Regions from separate parts of the Homo sapiens genome. Here all the other regions are linked to region 1. The links are contacts of gene promoters, found by promoter capture Hi-C in blood cells and fetal thymus (Javierre and others, 2016). All regions are on one chromosome and are shown on one strand. Each heading gives the region's core, a stretch centred on a gene start or on the middle of the fragment in contact. The rest is flanking DNA. Distances are from core to core; before and after follow the strand shown. Region 1 holds the start of PRDX1 (peroxiredoxin 1). Region 2 holds the start of ARMH1 (armadillo like helical domain containing 1). Region 3 overlaps ARMH1 (armadillo like helical domain containing 1). Region 4 holds the start of LOC105378690 (a long non-coding RNA gene). Region 5 overlaps KIF2C (kinesin family member 2C). Region 6 holds the start of RPS8 (ribosomal protein S8). Region 7 overlaps EIF2B3 (eukaryotic translation initiation factor 2B subunit gamma).

The links. Contacts are between HindIII fragments. The CHiCAGO score rates a contact against its expected background, and 5 or more counts as called.
Region 2: a contact is called between a fragment that was not itself captured here and the fragment with the promoter of PRDX1 in region 1, in 1 of 17 cell types (M0 macrophages). The highest score is 8.5, in M0 macrophages.
Region 3: a fragment that was not itself captured here is called in contact with the fragment with the promoter of PRDX1 in region 1 in 3 of 17 cell types (activated CD4 T cells, total CD4 T cells and total B cells); the score reaches 7.6 in activated CD4 T cells.
Region 4: a fragment that was not itself captured here is called in contact with the fragment with the promoter of PRDX1 in region 1 in 3 of 17 cell types (M0 macrophages, activated CD4 T cells and erythroblasts); the score reaches 8.1 in M0 macrophages.
Region 5: a fragment that was not itself captured here is called in contact with the fragment with the promoter of PRDX1 in region 1 in 5 of 17 cell types (activated CD4 T cells, naive CD8 T cells, naive CD4 T cells and 2 more); the score reaches 8.2 in activated CD4 T cells.
Region 6: a contact is called between the fragment with the promoter of RPS8 here and the fragment with the promoter of PRDX1 in region 1, in 2 of 17 cell types (non-activated CD4 T cells and total CD4 T cells). The highest score is 7.2, in non-activated CD4 T cells.
Region 7: a contact is called between a fragment that was not itself captured here and the fragment with the promoter of PRDX1 in region 1, in 1 of 17 cell types (naive CD4 T cells). The highest score is 5.8, in naive CD4 T cells.

Annotation. Positions count from the first base shown.
Region 1 is chr1:45,520,556-45,523,175 of GRCh38, forward strand. It overlaps PRDX1 (peroxiredoxin 1), which reads right to left and starts at 1,329. Exons shown (of 6, transcript NM_181697.3): 1 at 1,274-1,329. RefSeq lists a silencer at 523-685 and an enhancer at 1,728-1,807. The HindIII fragment of the contact is 8,348 bases long and covers 930-2,620 here.
Region 2 is chr1:44,674,658-44,677,277 of GRCh38, forward strand. ARMH1 (armadillo like helical domain containing 1) reads left to right here and starts at 57. Exons shown (of 12, transcript NM_001145636.2): 1 at 57-216. The HindIII fragment of the contact is 1,619 bases long and covers 509-2,127 here.
Region 3 is chr1:44,696,405-44,699,024 of GRCh38, forward strand. ARMH1 (armadillo like helical domain containing 1) reads left to right here. Exons shown (of 12, transcript NM_001145636.2): 3 at 698-766; 4 at 1,659-1,825. The region is part of intron 4 of LOC105378690 (a long non-coding RNA gene); the gene reads right to left. Among named protein-coding and RNA genes, the nearest start is that of ARMH1, 23 kb to the left of the region's middle. The HindIII fragment of the contact is 1,210 bases long and covers 724-1,933 here.
Region 4 is chr1:44,722,889-44,725,508 of GRCh38, forward strand. It overlaps ARMH1 (armadillo like helical domain containing 1), which reads left to right. Exons shown (of 12, transcript NM_001145636.2): 7 at 1,234-1,356; 8 at 1,432-1,504; 9 at 1,651-1,780; 10 at 1,874-1,951; 11 at 2,248-2,329; 12 at 2,403-2,620. The coding sequence ends at 2,515. It overlaps LOC105378690 (a long non-coding RNA gene), which reads right to left and starts at 1,231. Exons shown (of 5, transcript XR_007066059.1): 1 at 1,147-1,231. RefSeq lists a silencer at 549-843. The HindIII fragment of the contact is 4,387 bases long and covers 1-2,620 here.
Region 5 is chr1:44,744,743-44,747,362 of GRCh38, forward strand. The region is part of intron 2 of KIF2C (kinesin family member 2C); the gene reads left to right. Among named protein-coding and RNA genes, the nearest start is that of KIF2C, 6.2 kb to the left of the region's middle. The HindIII fragment of the contact is 4,417 bases long and covers 1-2,620 here.
Region 6 is chr1:44,774,226-44,776,845 of GRCh38, forward strand. RPS8 (ribosomal protein S8) reads left to right here and starts at 1,315. Exons shown (of 6, transcript NM_001012.2): 1 at 1,315-1,375; 2 at 1,809-1,915; 3 at 2,450-2,549. The coding sequence starts at 1,372. It overlaps SNORD55 (small nucleolar RNA, C/D box 55), which reads left to right and starts at 1,640; the gene lies at 1,640-1,713. It overlaps SNORD46 (small nucleolar RNA, C/D box 46), which reads left to right and starts at 2,267; the gene lies at 2,267-2,364. RefSeq lists a silencer at 1,359-1,568 and an enhancer at 1,649-1,938. The HindIII fragment of the contact is 3,101 bases long and covers 1-1,781 here.
Region 7 is chr1:44,865,098-44,867,717 of GRCh38, forward strand. All of the region lies in intron 10 of EIF2B3 (eukaryotic translation initiation factor 2B subunit gamma), which reads right to left. Among named protein-coding and RNA genes, the nearest start is that of PTCH2, 23 kb to the left of the region's middle. The HindIII fragment of the contact is 1,799 bases long and covers 388-2,186 here.

The DNA.
Region 1 (2,620 bases), core at 79-2,578:
CTAACAAAAATACAAAAAATTAGCCGGGGGTGGTGGCACGCGCCTGCAGTCCCAGCTACTCGGGAGGCTGAGGCAGGAGAATGGCGTGAACCCGGGAGGCGGAGGCTGCAGTGAGCCGAGATCCAGCCACTGCACTCCAGCCTGGGCGACAGAGCGAGACTCCGTCTCAAAAAAAAAAAAAAAAAAAAAATACAAAAATTAGCCGGGGCTTGGTGGCACAAGCCTGTAATCCCAGCTACTCCTAAGGCTGAGGCAGAAGAATTGCTTGAATTCGGGAGACAGGGGTTGCAGTAAGCCGAGACCGCGCCACTGCACTCCAGCCTGGCCGACAGAGCGAGACTCTAGCTCAAAAAACAGAGATTTAACCCACTAAGCCGCGGTCTGAAAGCTTTTCCAAGTCCCAAAGTTCTTAGTTCACAATACCACAAGCAAAAGAAATTTTGTAAGCATGGATCTTAGCAAACTTTTAACTGTTTTTTAAAAAGTCCTTAACACCTTTAACGACAAAAAACAAAAACCAAAAACTAAGGCATGCTGCAACTTGGTGCCCCCAAATGGCCTTCTCGTCCAATCCTTCTTTCCCAAGTGGCCCCCAAGTACAAAACCCAACCAATTCGGGGTAAAGGCTGCTGGGATTCAGGCCGCCACCGGGCCCCTTCAGGGGATCTGCCCAGCGTAGAGGGCCACATCCCTAAACCCCACTTCAGGTGCCCCCTGTCCCTCCCCAGCACTGGAGAAAGCACCAGCAGAGAGAGTGCTTCAGCGGGGACATTTGGGCTCATCGCTAACTCCATTCCACGTACAGGAAAATAAAGACGGGGAAAGGGTACCCGAAGCTCCGCAGCTAGTCAAGGCTCAGGACCCGGAACAGCCAAATACATAGAGGCTGTCTTCTACAGCCACGAGTCTGGATACAGGTCCATTCCAGAAGCTTCCCGAACCCACCCCGTCCGGCAGGAGGCTAGTCTCGGAGACCCCCACCACCAGCCCGCCCAGACGCCGCGCCACGTGCTCGAGTTGCCGGGGGAAGACTCGACTCGAGTCCACGCTTGCCTTGGGGTTCAACCAGGTTCCCGCACCTACGTGGGGGGCCCACGAGAGGGGTGTGCGCAGCGCTCAAGCAGTCTCGGACTCCGGGCCTCCCCCGGCTGCCTCACGCATCACAGCACCCCCACCCGAGCGCGGGCGGGCCCCGGACAGGAGGAGGAAGAGGCAACAGGCAAGAAGGGCGCGCCGCGCCTCACTCCGCAGGGGCCGCACTGCCCACACTCACCAGTCCCAACACAAGTCGCAGAAACTAACCACCGACACCAGGCAAGAACAAGACGCGCAAGAGCTCTCCGGGGCGCTGCCTTTATAGCCAGTAGGGATCTCGCGAGAGTCGGAACGGACGGGGGTGCCGGAGGAGGAGAGAGAGGAGGGGGATGTGGCCCGAGCCCCGCCCGGCGCGCCCCGCCGGAATGACTCGGCGCTTTCCCTCGTTGGGGCGGGTGCGGAAAAATACTAATACCCCACCCTGTTGCGGATGGCTGAGGTTGGAGTGAGGCGCCCTTGTGGCCGCTCCCGAACCCGAACGCTTAGGTTAATCCTAGATCTCTGCGGAAAACCAGGATTCTCTTTACTTCCAGGACCACTACGCACTGTGCCCTCAATGCCCAAACTGGAGTAAGCGTCTTAGCTGCTGCCCACGGAGGACCACGTCTAACCACACCAAGCCATGAGAACTGTCTATCCAAATATTTCTTAAGTTCGCAGCCTTAACCCCAGCGCAGATCCTCAGTAACCCTCATGGCTTAGATAGCTTCCTTCATTGTTCTCTTTAATTACAGGGTTGCTGCTTTCTGTTGTAAAGGAAAATAAAATATCAGGACTCCTAAACTTACGCCAGAGGGAAAGTTCATCTTGGGAGGCTGATTCAGTTACACGACCATCCTCTCCCCGGATGAATAATTTGACTTTACAATCTTGAGTCAAAACATTACACATTAGCCAGACCCACACGGTAAGGCAAAAGGCCTCAGACATTTCCTGATGACTACCCCCCACAAACACACATACACAAAATCATAATTAATTATTTGCTCCCCTGGAAACCTTTAAAGTATGTAGCCTCCCATAAAACAAGGACGTGTCAATTGCAACTAGATCTACAATATAAAGTCTAGTTCCTAAAACTAAAGTTTGTTCTATTCCACATTTTTTTGAGACGGAGTCTCACTCACCCTGTCGCCCAGGCTGTAGTGCAGTGGCACGGTGTTGGCTTACTGCAACCTCCACCTCCCGGGCTCAAGCGATTCTCCCGCCTCACCTCCGGAGTGTCTGGGACTACAAGCACGCACCACCACGCCCAGCTAATTTTTTGTATTTTTAGTAGAGACGAGGTTTCATCATGTTGGCTAGGCTGGTCTCCAACGCCTGACCTCAGGTGATCCGCCCGCCTTGGCCTCCCAAAGTGCTAGGAATGTAAGCGCGAGCCACCGCACCTGGCCTCTATTCCACAAATTCCATAAATGTTCACTACTAGATTACCTTTCTACTAGACTACTTTCTACCTTTCTAGTAGTACCTTACTACTAGATTACCCTGAGTCCACCACATAATTGTTTTCTTCCTCCATTCC
Region 2 (2,620 bases), core at 68-2,567, 850 kb before region 1:
TGGATCAGGTATTGGTCAGCCGGGGCGCCGGTCAGGAAGAGTCCCCACCCTCTCATGTAGGTGAGAGGCGGCTGAAGAGTTGCTGTATTCTGGGAATGGGCAGGGTCACTCGTCCGAACAGAGTCCTATCCTACGCGGCGGAAGAGTGTGCCCTTTGACTTGCATCGTCTACCTACCTCTGCCATCCTCTACCAGCCGCAACTGCGAGGGCTGGAGGTATAAAACCGTACAAAACGGCCTAGGGGGCGCGTGCCGACCCAACCTCCACCCAGTGGGGTTGAGGCATATTCTGGATGGATGGATGGATGGATGGATGGATGGGTGGATGGGAAGCAGTCTTCAGTTGATGACTTTAGAGAATGCCCTGTTGATAGGGCCCACCGAGGAGCTGGGAGTGCAACTTTCTTGCATTTATCTATATTTACATACTATGTGCCAGCATATTTACATACTATGTGCCAGAGACTGGGTGGGCTAAATAAGGTTCCTTAGGCCCTAGTGAGAATCAAGCTTTTGGCCCTCCCTCTCCCATGTCTTAACGGGAGAGGGAGAGAAACCATGCATGAAGCAACTCTGATTCTGCGTGTGAGATAAATACTACAGAAGAGTAAGGATTTGAGGAGCTCAGAATCAGAGAAGGGGCATTTATGGCAGTGGGGTTGGCTCTTGAGCTGGGCCTTGAAAGACTTTTAGAGATAGGGAGGGGGAAAGACTCTTTGCATGCCAGGCGCGGTGGCTCAAACTCGTAATCCCAGCACTTTGGAAGGCCAAGACGGGAGAATGGCTTGAAGGAGTTCAAGACCAGCCTGGGCAACATAGTGAGACCTTCATCTCTACAAAATTAAAATTTTAAAAATTAGCCAGGCATGGTAGCGCATGCCTGAAGTCCCAGCTACTTGGAAAGCTGAGGTGGGAGGATCACTTGAGTCAGGAGGTCAAAGCTGCAGTAAGCCATGATTGTGCCACTGCACTCCAGCCTGGGTGACAGAGTGAGACCCTGTCTCAAAAAACAAAACAAAGAGCCCAGTGTGGTGTCTCACCCCTGTAATCCCAGCACTTTGGGAGGCTGAGGCGGGCGTATCACTTCAGGTCAGGAGTTCGAGACCAGCCTGGCCAACATGGCGAAACCCCATCTCTACTAAAAATACAAAAATTAGCCGGGCATGGTGGTGCACACCTGTAATCCCAGCTACTTGGGAGGCTGAGGCAGGAGAATGGCTTGAACCTGGGAGGTAGAGGTGGCAGTGAGCCGAGATTGCTCCACTGCACTCCAGCCTGGGTGACAGAGCGCGACTCTGTCTCAAAAAAAAAGAAACATTAGTGCAGGAACTGGATTGAGGATTGGGAGAAGGAGGGAGACCAGTTAGGAGGTTGTTTCAGTAGTGGGGAAGGATTATGGTGGCACAAAGCATGGAGTGGCAGCTGAAATGGAAAGGGCAGGATGAATTCCTTAGACACTTATAGCTAGAAAAAAATGGACTTGGTTACTAATTGGGTGTGGGGGAAGTAAGGGAAATGAAGGATGACTTCTAGATTCCTGGTTTGGGCAAACAGGAAGGAGAGGAAGCAGGGGTTTTTAGGAGAGGGTCAGTTCTGGGCACGGTGAGCTTGGGGTGCCAATGGAACATCCAAGTGGAGGTATCCAGAAGGCCATTGGATATGCCTAACTGGAGTTCGCCAGATAAGTCTAACTGGAAGTTGCAGTGTGGGAGTCTATGGGGCCTTATAGATGCCAGCCACACCAATAGATTTGTTGAGCTTGCCCAGGGAGTAAGTGTAGAGTCAGAAGAGACCTAGGACAGAGCCCTGAGAAACACCCAAGTTTGAGGGTCTGGCAAAGGAGGACGAACCTGCAAAGGTAATCAAGATGAAGTGTCCAAAATGGTAAGAAGATCAGTAGTAGTATGTGGTGTTTCAGAAGCCAAGGAAGGAAAGTGTTGAAGGCTTATGACTAATCAAGTAAAATAAGGCCTGAAAGAATCCACTGGATTTAGAAACAAGGAAGTTGTTGGTGACCTTTACAAGTGCAGTTTCAGTGGAGTGATGGGAGCAGAGGTCAAATTACAGTGGTTTGAGAAGCAGATGGGATTGAGGAAGTGAAGATTCATGTAAGATACATTTTCAGAAAGCTTGGCTATTTAGGAGAAGAAAAAAGAAGGCAATATCCAGCAGGAAACACAGGTTTTTATTCGGATGGAAGAAATGTTGATGTGGATCCAGCAAAGGGGAAAAAGATAAAACTATAAGGGAAAGAAGATAACTGAGAATGGTGCCCTTGAAAAAAAGACTTCACCAAAGTGTTGGTGAAGAAATTCACTTAGAAGGGTGGAGGAACATTTGTTTTGTGGCAGAAGGGAAGCATTACGTTGAGGTTAATTGGTGGGTTTGGTGACAGGAAGCTGAGGGAATTCTTCGATGGTTTCCATTTTCTCTGTCAAATAAGAACATTATATCAGCCAGTGAGAGTGGGATTGGAGATGGTGTGCGAGATTGAAAAGAGCAGAGAAAGATTAAAATAGCAGCACTGGAGAGTGGCAGTGAGATGACTAAGGTAGCAAACAGATTTCTGGGCAGTTATCATGGCCCTGTCGAGGTTAGTGACCATTAATTTTCGGAAGCA
Region 3 (2,620 bases), core at 79-2,578, 820 kb before region 1:
CTCTGATGTGTTATGAGCCTAGTAATTGTTGACTGGTTCCTTTTCTGTTGTGGCTTGATTTCATACCTTGTATCTGAGCTGATGCGTGCTTTGGGTACTTTATTATAATGAGGCTTTTTGCAAAGACTCACATTAAAAAATAACATTAAATACTGAGGTTGTTTTAAATCAGAGTTTAATTTTTCCACCATCTCCTATTATTCTTATTAGGAAGCCAATTCTTCATAAGGATAGTGACCTCCAGTGTAAAACTTTGAACAAGTACAAAAATTGAGAATTAATGATGAAGCTGGTTCTTTTTAGGGAAATCTAAGAATGAGGCACAAAGTCATGAACTATGCTGACACCAAGGATGCAATGGGCATGGCTTAGAGAGCTTTGGGATATTGACCCCCAGCCTTCTCCAGGGACCCTTAATTCATCAGAGCCTCCTTGTTCCCTAGAAAGCCTGTAAGAGCCAAGGTGGCTGAACTGCCACAGAGGAGCTTCCTGGAGAACAGTGAACAGCCAGCACCCTCTTCCCCCAACCCTGTGTGTACTGCCACTTCCCCTTCCGCTGGTAGCTCCTCTCAGGGTAAAGAGGCACAGTTCAGCTACTTGGCCACCCTGGGCCCGGGGTGGTACCAGAGATCAGGCACGGGCTCTGGCTTCTGTGTGAAAAACCACCCTGAAACTCACTCTTTAACGTGTCATACAGCTATATGACTGACTCATGTTTAGAAAAGCTTCTCAGGTCCATTGGCATCTTCTTATCAGCTGTAAGCAGGTGAGTTCTGTTCTAGCGTGATTCTGGGGGTCTCAGTGGCATCTCAGGCTCATGATGTCTTTGGCATTCACACCACCCAGGGCCACGGATTCCTGTTAGCAGTGGGTTCCTTGTAGCTCTTGGGATGGGCCCAGAGGTAATGTCCACCGGGCTCCTGCTCTAGTTGCTCCCCCATCCCTTTCTCTCCAGTGGCGCTTCACTAGTCAGCACCCTCTCGGTTGTGAATTACAGAAAACCAACTCATATTGGACTCAGAAAAAGGAAAATTAGTGGCTCACTTAACTGGAAAAACCCAGAGGGTAGAAATACATATTTCAGCCCTAACTAGATCCAGGGCTCAAACAATGTCATCAGTACTTGGCCTCCTTCTCTGTCTTTTCCCCCATTTCTGTCTCTTCTCCTCTGTGTTCATAGACCTCTGTATGCCATGGTCCTCAGGAGCTCTAGACATACCAAAAACAGAGCAGATCCTTTCCACAGCTTCCCAAGAAAGTCCCAGGCTTTGAGCCTCATTGGACCAATTTAGGTCCCATGCCCAGCCCCAAACGAACTTCTGCAGTCAGAAGGGTGACATACCCTGTCACCTCCTCACCCCACCAAAACTACATGGCCCATGAGTGGCAGAGGGGTGATTCCCCAAGTGACAGTTGAGGTGGTATTACAAGAAGAAGAAGAGATGCTGGAATGGCAAAACCAAGAACTGTCCCTAGTATGTAATTCCAGTCTTTCCTGCTGGAAGGAAGAATTTCCACACTCGTATCACTTTACCTATGGACATTTCCTGGATAGGAGGGCAAAGTATGTAAAGAGGGGACCTTGGGATCTCTTTGAAAGCTCAGTGCAAAGGAACTTGACAAGAGTTTTATTTCTACTTTTCTATCCCTCTGGACAGTAATCGGTACCTTATAGAATTTCTTGAGGTTGGAGGTGTCCTAACCCTCTTGGAAATACTTGGGCTAGAGAAGATCAAGGAGGAGGCCAAGAAGGAATCTGTCAAACTACTTCAGGTTATTGCGAACTCTGGCAGGACATACAAGGAACTCATTTGTGAAAGCTATGGTGGGTACTGTGTGTGACAAGATGTGTCTCCCTAGGGGCCTGAATGACATGGTGGCAGAACCCACCACTGCTATAGGAAAAACACATCATGAAACTGGTTGAACAGGAAGCTTTTTGTGCTCCTGTCCATGTCACCACTGGAAGACCCAGATTTATGATTCTCCTGATTCATCATTTGCTCACATTTTTCAGTAGTGGTTTTAGAAATACTTCTCCTTTTTAAATATATCCTCTTTCAGGCATCCATTCAAAGATTTGTTGAGCTGTGGCCCAATATCTTTTGTGAAATTGAGTTATGAGGCCGGGCGCGGTGGCTCACACCTGTAATCCCAGCATTTTGGGAGGCCAAGGCAGGAAGATCACCTGAGGTCAGGAGTTTGAGACCAGCCTGACCAACATGGAGAAACCCCGTCTCTACTAAAAATACAAAAAAATTAGCCTGGTGCAGTGGTCGGGGCCTGTAATCCCAGCTACTTGGGATGCTAAGGCAGGAGAATCGCTTGAACACAGGAGGCAGAGGTTGTGGTGAGTTGAGATCACACCATTGCACTCCAGCCTGGGCAACAAAAGTGAAACTCCATCTCAAAAAAAAAAAAAAGAAATTGAATTATGAATAACTCAAGAAATAAAATTGAAGGCCAGACGCAGTGGTTCACACCTGTAATCCCAGCACTTTGGGAGGCCAAGGCGAGTGGATCACCTGAGGTCAGAATTTGAGACCAGCCTGGCCAACATGGCAAAACCCCCTCTCTACTAAAAATACAAAAATTAGGCCAGGCGCGGTGGCTCACGCCT
Region 4 (2,620 bases), core at 38-2,537, 800 kb before region 1:
CTCTACTAAAAATACAAAAAAAAAAAAAAAAAAAAATTAGCCGGGTGTGGTGGCGGGCGCCTGTAATCCCAGCCTACTCGGGAGGCTGAGGCAGGAGAATTGCTTGAACCCAGGAGGCGGAGGTTGCAGTGAGCCGAGATCGCGCCACTGCACTCCAGCCTGGGCGACAGAGTGAGGCTCTGTCTCAAAAAAAAAAAAAAGGTAGCATTTATGCTGGTGTGCCATCATCTTAGCATCTCCTTCTCCTCCTGCCCCCTCTAGCTCTGTGGTTCCTTTCTCTTCTTTACAAAAACATTCAATCCTTGCCGATTTTCTCTTGTGCTCCCACAGCCCAATCACTGACTCCTTCCACAGCACCTGTCACCATATCATCGCTGCCTGTTTGTGCACGCTTAAGGAGGGTTGGTCGAATGAATGAATTCAGTCTGTATCCTCAACACCCAATGCCGCGCCTGGCACCATAGGCGTTCACATGCAGCCGTGCCGAAAGACTGAGTGAATGCTGGACTGAATGAATGACTGCCTGTAAAATATCTACAGGAAAGCCCTGCAGGAAATGCCCTCCATAAATTCTAGTCCCCTTCTCCTTCCTAACCAAATCCTCCCCTCCTTCTGCTTCCATCACTTCCTAGCTGTGTAACTTAGGCAAAGTGGTTTACCTCTCTGTGTCTAATTTCGGCAAAGGTAAAATGGGGAAGTGAACCTCATCTGGTTCTGGTGAGCTTCCACGGGTGCTGTATGGAAAGCCTGGCACCCTGCCTGGTGGAGAGGGCTCGATGATGGTTAGAAGGAGAGTTTCTCTAAACTGCCGCCTACCTTCCTTCCCCTTTCTCATTTCCTGCCACAAGTCTCCCACCCACTTTCTCTGTCTCCCTCTCACCCCTTGTCTTTCTCCATCTTGTCTTCCCGTAAAGACCCAGCCCTTCCCTCCTCCATGAAACCTGGATTCCTCCAAGGCGAAGGCCCCCCTCTCTGGGGTCTCAGCCTCCAGCGCTGACATCCTAGGCCGCCTCGACAGGTGGGCTCACCATCCAACCCTTCCTCCTCCCCCTTCAGCCCCCTCCTCCTGCTCTTCAACTGAGGTTCGCCTTCCCAGCTCCCCCACGCCCTGCACAGTGCTGATCAGTAAAAGAGGAGGACACTGACGAGTGGCGACTTGGTTCACGGGGTTCTTTGCTTCCTCGGTGGCGGAGGGGCCTGGGGCCTCTCTCCAGCACCTCTGCCCTTCCGCAGCCATCGAGTTGATCAAAGACCTGGTCGGTTACGATGTGCGCCAGGCGCTGCTCAAGGGCCTCGTGGCGCTGCTGATACCGTCGGTCAAGGAGATCTCCAAACTGCAGGCCAAGATCCTCAGTGGTAAGGACCTGCTCAAATGGGGCTGCCTGGGCCACGGGAGGGCGGTCTCTTGCCTCACGGCTGCCCCCTCCTCAGACCCCTCGGTTCTCCAGCTCACCCCCAGCCTGCCGATGTTTTTGCAGCAGGCCGCGGCCGCCAAGGCCATCGGGTAAGCGGGCAGGGGTTAGTGGGTAGCTGCAGCAAGCCTGGCTTGGCGCTGCCGGCGGGCCCCGGGAGCGCTCCGTGCGCCGGGTGGGCGGGGGTGTGCGCCGGGTGAGCCCCAGGGCGTCGCCCCAGCCCGAACCCCCGGCCCAGGGTCCTGGCGCGCAACGACATGAGCATCGCCGAGGAGCTGCTGTACCTGCGCGTGGTGCGTGGCCTAATGGCCGCCATGGGCAACACGGACCACAGCAACAGCCAGCGGCTGGCCAGCCTCACGCTGGAGGTGCGCGCGGCGGCTGGTTAGGGGGCGGGAAGGGCGGCGGCACCCGCAGCCCCGTCGCCCCCGCAGTCACGCCGCCTCGCCCGCGCGGCGCAGTGCTTCGTGCAGATGTTCCCCTTGGTGGCGGAGCACGTGCGCAAGTGCATGGGGGAGGAACTCTACCAGCTCTTCCTGGTAAGTGCGCCCTTCCTGCCCCGCCGCAATGAGCAGATGGCGGCTCGGACAGTGTGATGCCCCTTCAGACAGTCCCCATCCTGGAGCGCGCCACATGCAGAGTGGACCTGGCCACCAGCTGCAGGAGGGACTGCTCTGGCGTAGGCTCCTCCACCCGCCACCTTCCTGTTCCCTTTCCTGCCCTTTCGGTCAGGCTGCCGACCCGCCCCCCACCTGCAACATCCCTCTGCCAAGCCCAACTCCAAGTCCAGACTGCCCTGGCACCCCAGCCGGGTCCCCCTTGCTCCTGTCCTCAGAGCAACGCTGAGGACTTGTACATGAAAATAGACAGCATTCAGGCGGACATCTTGGCGGCCAACACAGTCAATGTTACCAAAGGTGAGTGTGGGACGAGGGAAGCCGGGCGCAGGCGCCGCCAGCACAGCCTCACGCCCGCCTTTCCTGCCTGCAGCCCTGTGCCTCCATGGCAGCTCCTACAGCATGAACACTCTCTATGGCTCGCGCGATTCGGCTCAGATGGCCTACCTCACACACTTCGAGGAGGATGTAGAATCAAAGGAGTAACAGCCCCTGTGGCAAACCAGGAAGGCCAAGGCTGCGGGGCAGGGAAGCCTGGCAAGAGGAAGGCGCCTGGGGTCAAGCTCAGAGCCACTCCACTTGGCTCCAGGG
Region 5 (2,620 bases), core at 33-2,532, 780 kb before region 1:
CCAAAAACTTAGCCGGATGTGGTGGTGCGCACCTGTAGTCCCAGCTACTCAGGAGGCTGAGGCGGAAGAATCGCTTGAACCCGGGAGGTGGAGGTTGCAGCGAGCTGAGATCGCGCCATTGCACTCCAGCAGCCTGGGCGACAGAGTGAGATTCCGTCTAAAAAAGGCCGGGCGTGGTGGCTCATGCCTGTAATCCCAGCACTTTGGGAGGCTGAGGTGGACGGATCACCTGAGGTCAGGAGCTCAAGACCAGCCTGGCCAACGTGGTAAAACCCTGTCTCTACTAAAAATACAAAATTAGCTGGACATGGTGGCGCATGCCTGTAATCTCAGCTACTCAGGAGGCTGAGGCAGGAGAATCACTTGAACCTGGGAGGCGGAGGTTCCAGTGAGCCGAGATCATGCCACTGCACTCCAGCCTGGGCACCAAGAGTGAAACTCCATCTCAAAAAAAAAAAAAAACCTCTGGTTTTCTTTGTTGTTTATGCTCTCTGTAGTTTAGGGGTTAGAAATGGGGGAGGTATGTACCAAGAGTCTGTGGCTGTCCCAGAAGTGTGGATAGAAGTGTGATTACTGAAGTGCTTGCCAGCTTTTGCATTTAGTGATTCTATCCTCCTTTTTTTTTTTTTATTTAAATCTCATTCTGCTTTGATTTCCTTTGTACATATGACTTATAATCCCCATTAGAAATTGAGCTCATGGTGGCAGGGGTTGTATATGTCTTTTTTTTTTTTTTTTTTTTTTTTTTGAGACAGTGTTTCGCTCTTGTTGCCCAGGCTGGAGTGTGATGGCGCTATCTTGGCTTACTGCAACCTCCGCCTCCCGGGTTCAAGCGATTCTTCTGCCTCAGCCTCCCGAGTAGCTGAGATTACAGGCATGCATCACACCTGGCTAATTTTTTATTTTTAGTAGAGACGGGGTTTTTCCATGTTGGTCAGGCTGGTCTTGAACTCCCGACCTCAGGTGATCTGCCTGTCTCAGCCTCCCAAAGTGCTGGGATTACAGACGTGAGCCACCACGCCCGGCCTATATATGTCTTAATTCATCTTTGACTACCTTCCCCCTGTAGGCTGCTGTCTTCGTGGTGCCTAACAAATGTTTGAATAGGCAGCAAATAACTGCAGATTTCTTTTTTCTTTTTCTTTTTTTTTTGAGACGGAGTCTCGCTGTGTCGCCCAGGCTGGAGTGCAGTGGCGGGATCTCGGCTCACTGCAAGCTCCGCCTCCTGGGTTCACGCCATTCTCCTGCCTCAGGCTCCTGAGTAGCTGGGATTACAGGTGCACGCTGCCACACCCAGCCAACTTTTTGTATTTTAGTAGAGACAGGGGTTTCACCGTGTTGCCCAGGCTGGCCTTGAACTCCTGAGGTCAGGTAATCCGCCCACCTCGGCCTCCCAAAGTGCTGGGGTTACAGGCGTGAGCCACCGCACCCAGTCCTGCAGGTTTCATCTCTAGGCAGTAAAGCCCTCACCCTAGAGTACATGCTTCAGCTCTGTCACATTTTGAAATACAAAGTTGGGACAAATTTAATATGTCTGAACCTGTTGTAAAGCTATCCTGGTGAAGTTTGAGTTGTTCCTGGAGAATTGCAGGACTCTGATGATGTAAACTTAGAATTGTGACCTCATTGCAGGCATCAACAGGAAATAGGTAAGGCATGGGCAGGAAGCCGTAACTGGGGAAGTTTCTGGGCCCAGAAGAAAATGTAGGTAGTCTTAGGGTTAGGTAGCAGCTGTCAGGAACTTGCCCCTGCCCATAAGATCCTAAAGGGCCCCCATTTGACTCTCACCAGACAGTTAGAACTTGTTTCCTCCTCCGTGTCAGCCATCAAGAGGTGCTTGGGGGGCTGTGCCCAGCAGGACCTCACTGCCCAGCAGATCAGCAGGGGAGCCAAGTGGCCTAGATCTGCTGTGGAGTACCCGACTGTTTGCCTGCCTGTCTGCCCTCCTCTTCACCTCATTCTCATCACTGACGTCTACCATTGGCTTGGAAATCAGAAACCCATATCCATCTAGATGGTAAACCATTATTAAGGAGTAACTATTTGTTTTATAGCTATTCATACTTAGTGGAACTTAAAGTTGGTAAAGTTTGAATTTAGGGGTACCCCTGTCTATAGAAATTTAATTTTTTCTATGTTGTTTTTTTGTTTGTTTGTTTGTTTTTTGTTTTTTGAGACAGAGTCTTGCTCTGTTGCCCAGGCTGGAGGGCAGTGGCTCAATCTCAGCTCAATGCAACCTCCGCCTCCTGGATTCCAGCAATTCTCCCGCCTCAGCCTCGGGGGGGCCAGGCACAGTGGCTCACACCTGTAATCCCAGCACTTTAGGAGGCCGAGGTGGGGAGATCACCTGAGGCCAGGAGTTTGAGACCATCCTGGCCAACATGGTGAAACCCTGTCTCTACTGGAAATACAAAAATTAGCTGGGCGTGGTGGCGCATGCCTGTAGTCCCAGCTACTCAGGAGGCTGAGGCAGGAGAATTGCTTGGACCCAGGAGGCAGAGGTTGCATTGAACCAAGATCGCACCACTGCCCTCCAGCCTGGGCGACAGAGCGATACTCTGTCTCAAAAAAAAAAAAAAAGAAAAAATGTATTTGGATTGAACAATGTTGTTTCATTGAA
Region 6 (2,620 bases), core at 65-2,564, 750 kb before region 1:
AGGGTAGTGGGAGGGTAGGGGGAAGTGGGGATGGTGGGGATGGCTAATGGGTACAAAAATAAAATATCATCATAAATAAGACCTACTATTTGATAGCAAAACAGGGTGACTATAATCAATAATAACTTGTGTATTTTATTTTTTTGAGACAGAGTTTTACTCCATCACCCAGGCTGGAGTGAGTGCATTGGTGCCATCTCGGCTCACTGGAACCTCCACCTCCCGGTTCAAGTGATTCTCCTTCTTCAGCCTCCAGACGGAGTTGCTGGAATTACAGGCGCCCGCCACCACGCCCGGCTAATTTTGTTTTGTTTGTTTGTTTTGTTTTGAGACGGAGTTTCGCTCTGTCGCCAGACTGGAGTGCAGTGGTGCGATCTCGGCTCACTGCAACCTCCAGCTCCCTGGTTCAAGCGATTCTCCTGCCTCAGCCTCCCTGAGTAGCTGGGATTACAGGTGTGCGTCACCATGCTCAACTAAATTTTGTATTTTTTTAGTAGACACGCGGTTTCACCATGTTGGCCAGGCTGGTCTCGAACTCCTGACCTCGTGATCCGCCCGCCTCCGCCTCCCAAAAGTGCTGAGATTACAGGCGTGAGCCACCGCGCCAGGCCTAAAAATTTTTTTTAATTAAAAAATAGATATCCTTCTAGCTCAGAAAAGTTAGCTGATCCCTCCTTTATACTCTCTTCCTAAGTTCCGTTCATTCTGGTGGCTTTAATTACCATTTATAAGCCAACGATTCCCAAAATAACATCTTCGGTGCAGATCCCTTATAAGGATGACCAGTCATTAATATTCAGCTTCCTATCTGTTAGTCCCACTCAACATGACTTAGCAAGATCTCAAAATGAACGTGTCCAGAACAGCTCCTACCTTAGCCTACCCCATCTCAGTAAATGGCCCCAATATTTATCCGATTGATCAAGTGACAATCTTAGGAATCCTTGACACCGCCCTCTCCCTCAATCCCCATGTCCAATCTACCACCAAACCCTTCAAAACAAAACCCAAGTCCACACTCGTTTCCAATTCCATTGCCTTCCACTCTTTTTCAACGCAGCCGCACCCACATCTCATCCTAAACGACCGCAGCAGCCTCTGAAACTAGTCTAAACACGCCCAGATCTGCCGACGCCGCAGACCCCCTTCCCCCAGCCCAGGGTCGGAGGCGAGTCGCCGGGGGTCGGCAGAGGTCAGCAGCCTGCGAGACCCTCCTAGGCTCGTGGCCCTAGGCGCGGCAGCTGACACGTAAGTCTCGTCGCCCGACGTTGTTTCGGCGCTCAGAAACAACGTAAAGTAAAGGGGCGGGGCAGCGTTTTACAAACCGAACCGTGAATCTTTGCGGTTTCTCTTTCCAGCCAGCGCCGAGCGATGGGTGAGTGTCGCTCTGCATTGAGGCGGGTGAAGGGAGGTTGAGCTCAATCAGGCCCCATCCTGCTTCACAGCCTACTGAGGAGTCCAGACGCCCCGACCCCCGGCCAGGGACAGCCACGAGGAGTGGTGGCCCTCGGGTTTCGGCCGCCCAGCCCGTCTCTGGGGGCTGCGAAGGCTCTGGGCTCCGGGTTCCGGGCCGCGGGCTGCGGGCTCCGAGCGGCGCCAACATGGCTGCCGCGAGGAGGAGGCCCCGGCCTGGCCGCACGTGTATGATGACAACTCGGTAATGCTGCATACTCCCGAGTGCGCGGTGGGGAAGCCAACCTTGGAGAGCTGAGCGTGCGACCGGCCCGGCGCGGGGGTCTCCGGGAGCTGGCGAGTCGCTAGCACCGAGTCACAGTGGCTCAAGCTTCCTTCCCCGCTTCCACATGCAGGCATCTCTCGGGACAACTGGCACAAGCGCCGCAAAACCGGGGGCAAGAGAAAGCCCTACCACAAGAAGCGGAAGTATGAGTTGGGGCGCCCAGCTGCCAACACCAAGGTGGGTGCGAGCGTGGGCCTGTCCGCCTGGGAGGTCGCCTTCCCCCGCTCTCCAGCGTGCTCGGGTCTTTCCGTGTGACAGTTGTGCGTTCTTTCTTGGGCTCTGATTTCTCTGTAGTAGGGCCTGGGTGTCCTGTCCCCCTTTAGCTGTTGGATAAGTAAGTACCAAAGAGGGAATGCTCCCTCAGGCCCCCAAACCTGGAGCTTAGGATTTCAGAGAGAAGGATACTGTGTGGGGACTTGAGCTTCTGGAGAGGGTGGCGCCTCGCGTCATAGTCAGAAGCCTAGTCTTGTTTTTTTTACAGAGGCTTAATTTTCAGCATTTGGGGTCAGGCTTTCCTCTTGGAGGCAAGTAGGGTGATGAAAAAGAATCCTTAGGCGTGGTTGTGGCCGTCTTGGTCACCTGTGTGCCACTTGCCAATGCAAGGACTTGTCATAGTTACACTGACTGTTGCCTCCTCCCGGCCCAGGTTCCTCTCCCTCACTTGCCTTGCTCTCCTTGGTAACCTAGTTCCTGTAACCTTGTGTTTTCCAGATTGGCCCCCGCCGCATCCACACAGTCCGTGTGCGGGGAGGTAACAAGAAATACCGTGCCCTGAGGTTGGACGTGGGGAATTTCTCCTGGGGCTCAGAGTGTGAGTGAGGCCCTTTGGGAGTGGGTGGGAAAACGCACCTAAACGGTCTTAAGATTCACCAAGTGGGCCTG
Region 7 (2,620 bases), core at 37-2,536, 660 kb before region 1:
AATCCCAGCTACTTGGGAGGCTGAGGCAGGAGAATTGCTTGAACCTGGGAGGTGGAGGTTGCAGTGAGCTGAAATTGTCACTGCACTCCAGCCTGGGCAACAGAGCGAGACTCCATCTTAAAAAAAAAAAAAGAAATGTGTGAAGCCAGCCTGATTTTCTCCCTTCTATGTGGCCTGATGTTTTTCTTTCAGTTCTGCATGCCTTGGTATTTTGAAAAAAGGATGTTTGATGTCTTTTCTTTGGTTCACCCATGTTCCCATTCCTTCTTCTCTTTATGTTGAATCTTGGTGTTCTCTTTGGATTTAATCTAAATTTCACTGTATCTGGCAGATATTCTGTAGTCTGTGCATAGGTATGAGTAGGTTATTTCATTTTATTATAGATAAAGCTTCCTTCTGTGGTTTTGTTTTTTCAATTTGGTGAGCTTTAAGGAATGAAGCACTCATCCACAAATTTTCTTCTGTATTTGTAACATTGGTACCAACTTTTTTTTTTTTTCCAAGATGGAGTTTTGCTCTTGTTGCTCAGGCTGGAGTGCAATGGCGCGAACTGGGCTCACTGCAACCTCCACCTTCCGGGGTTCAAGTGATTCTCCTGCCTCAGCCAACCAAGTAGCTGGGATTACAGGCATGCGCCACCACGCCCGAGTAATTTTGTATGGGGTTTCTCCATGTTGGTCAGGCTGGTCTCGAACTCCTGACTCAGGTGATCTACCCGCCTCAGCTTCCCAAAATGCTGAGATTACAGGCATGAGCCACTGAGCCTGGCCATCATTGGTACCAACTTTTAAAATTTTTATTTATTTATTTTTTTCTCCCTCTCTATAATCATGTACAATATTTTTTTCTAGAAGCAGAGAGGGATCTCTTAACAGATATTTAGCCAGTTATAGTAGAGGGGTTAAATCAGAGATCTCCATTTTTCATTTAGTAAATGCTTATAAGATATCTACTACGTAAAAAGTGCAGTATTAAGAAGTTAGGGGATATAAAGACATATAAAAATATTTCTATATTTAGCCAGGCATGGTGGCTCACGCCTGTAATCTCAGCACTTTGGGAGGCTGGAGGTGGGCGGCTAATGAGGTCAGGAATTTGAGACCAGCCTGGCCAGCATGGAGAAACCCCATCTCTACTAAAAATACAAACAATTAGCTGGGCATGGTAGCACGTGCCCGTAGTCCCAGCTACTCGGGAGGCTGAGGCTGGAGAACTGCTTAAACCTGGCAGGTGGAGGTTGCAGTTAGCTGAGATTGTGCCATTGCACTCCAGCCGGGGTGACAGAATGAGATTCTGTCTCAAAAAAAAAAAAACAAACAAAACTATATTGAAGGCATTTATAGTCTAGTTGAAGAGGGAAGAAAGATGCAGTAAGTGCCACAGTACCATGTGAGCATGAATAAAGTGTTATGGGTGCATAGGGAGCACAGAGGTGGGGAAAATAGTTTATGGCTATGACAATTTTTTTTTTTTTTTAGATGGAGTCTCGCTCTGTCATCCAGTCCGGAGTCCAATAGTGCAACCTCGGCTCACTGCAACCTCTGCCTCCCCGGTTTAAGCGATTCTCCTGCCTCAGCCTCCTGAGTAGCTAGAATTACAGGCACACACCACCACGCCCAGCTAATTTTTGTATTTTTAGTAGAGACGGGGTTTCACCATGTTGGCCAGGATGGTCTCAAACTCCTGACCTCAGGTGATTGGCCCGCCTTGGCCTCCCAAAGTGTTGGGATTACAGGCGTAAGCCACCATGCCTGGCCGGCTATGACATCTTAAGAAAGCTGCATGGAAGAGTTGGAATATGCATTGGATCTTGCAAGATGGGTAGGATTTTTACAGGAAAGAGCTCCAAAGAGAGGCAATTCAGGCAGAGTGAATGTTAGAAATAAAGGGAAGTAGGAATGTAAGGAACCCAGTGGGCAGGGCAGTCAGTCAGTTGAGTGCAGGTGAAGGGTACACTCAGGGTAATGATGAGAAGTAGTAATTTCTTACCTGGCTCTGAGGTCTACACTTGCTAACTGCAAAAAGCATGGAAAACCTAGGTGAGAACCTGGCTTTCTAGCCTGTCAGCATGTGAAGATGCTACTCTAGACTGCTGCTTGGGTCATGTGCCTTGGATTAGGGGGAAATGCAGGAGAGGTTGCTTGGGACCAGGGGACCAAACATGCAGAATACAGGGCTGACACTCAAGCTTTGACAATGAAGTGTTTACTACATTGTGGATTCCTGAGCATCAGCTGTCATATAAAATGCCAGAACATGAGAAAGATGGGCAGGAGCTTTCTCTGAATAGTCTCGCCTACACCTTCTCCAAGGTGGTCCTATTAGCATCCCTCAAGCCCTGAAGACCTTGGGCAGGTGTCCAGAAAGCCTCAGCAAGCTTTCAAGCCTCAGCAGCCCACCACTGCTGGCAGAGACAAGCACATAACGAATATGAGAAACTCCCTTCTGAACAATTTTATGCTCCTACCCTGCCACTTAGCCAAGACATAATAGCAGCAGGGTAATCAAGTCTCACTTGACTGCAATTTAATTACCTTTCCCAGGTTTGCCGTAAGTAATTAAAATTAAGTGACCCCAAAATAATGGGAAAAAGTTCATATGGGATGTAGGATGTCTGATC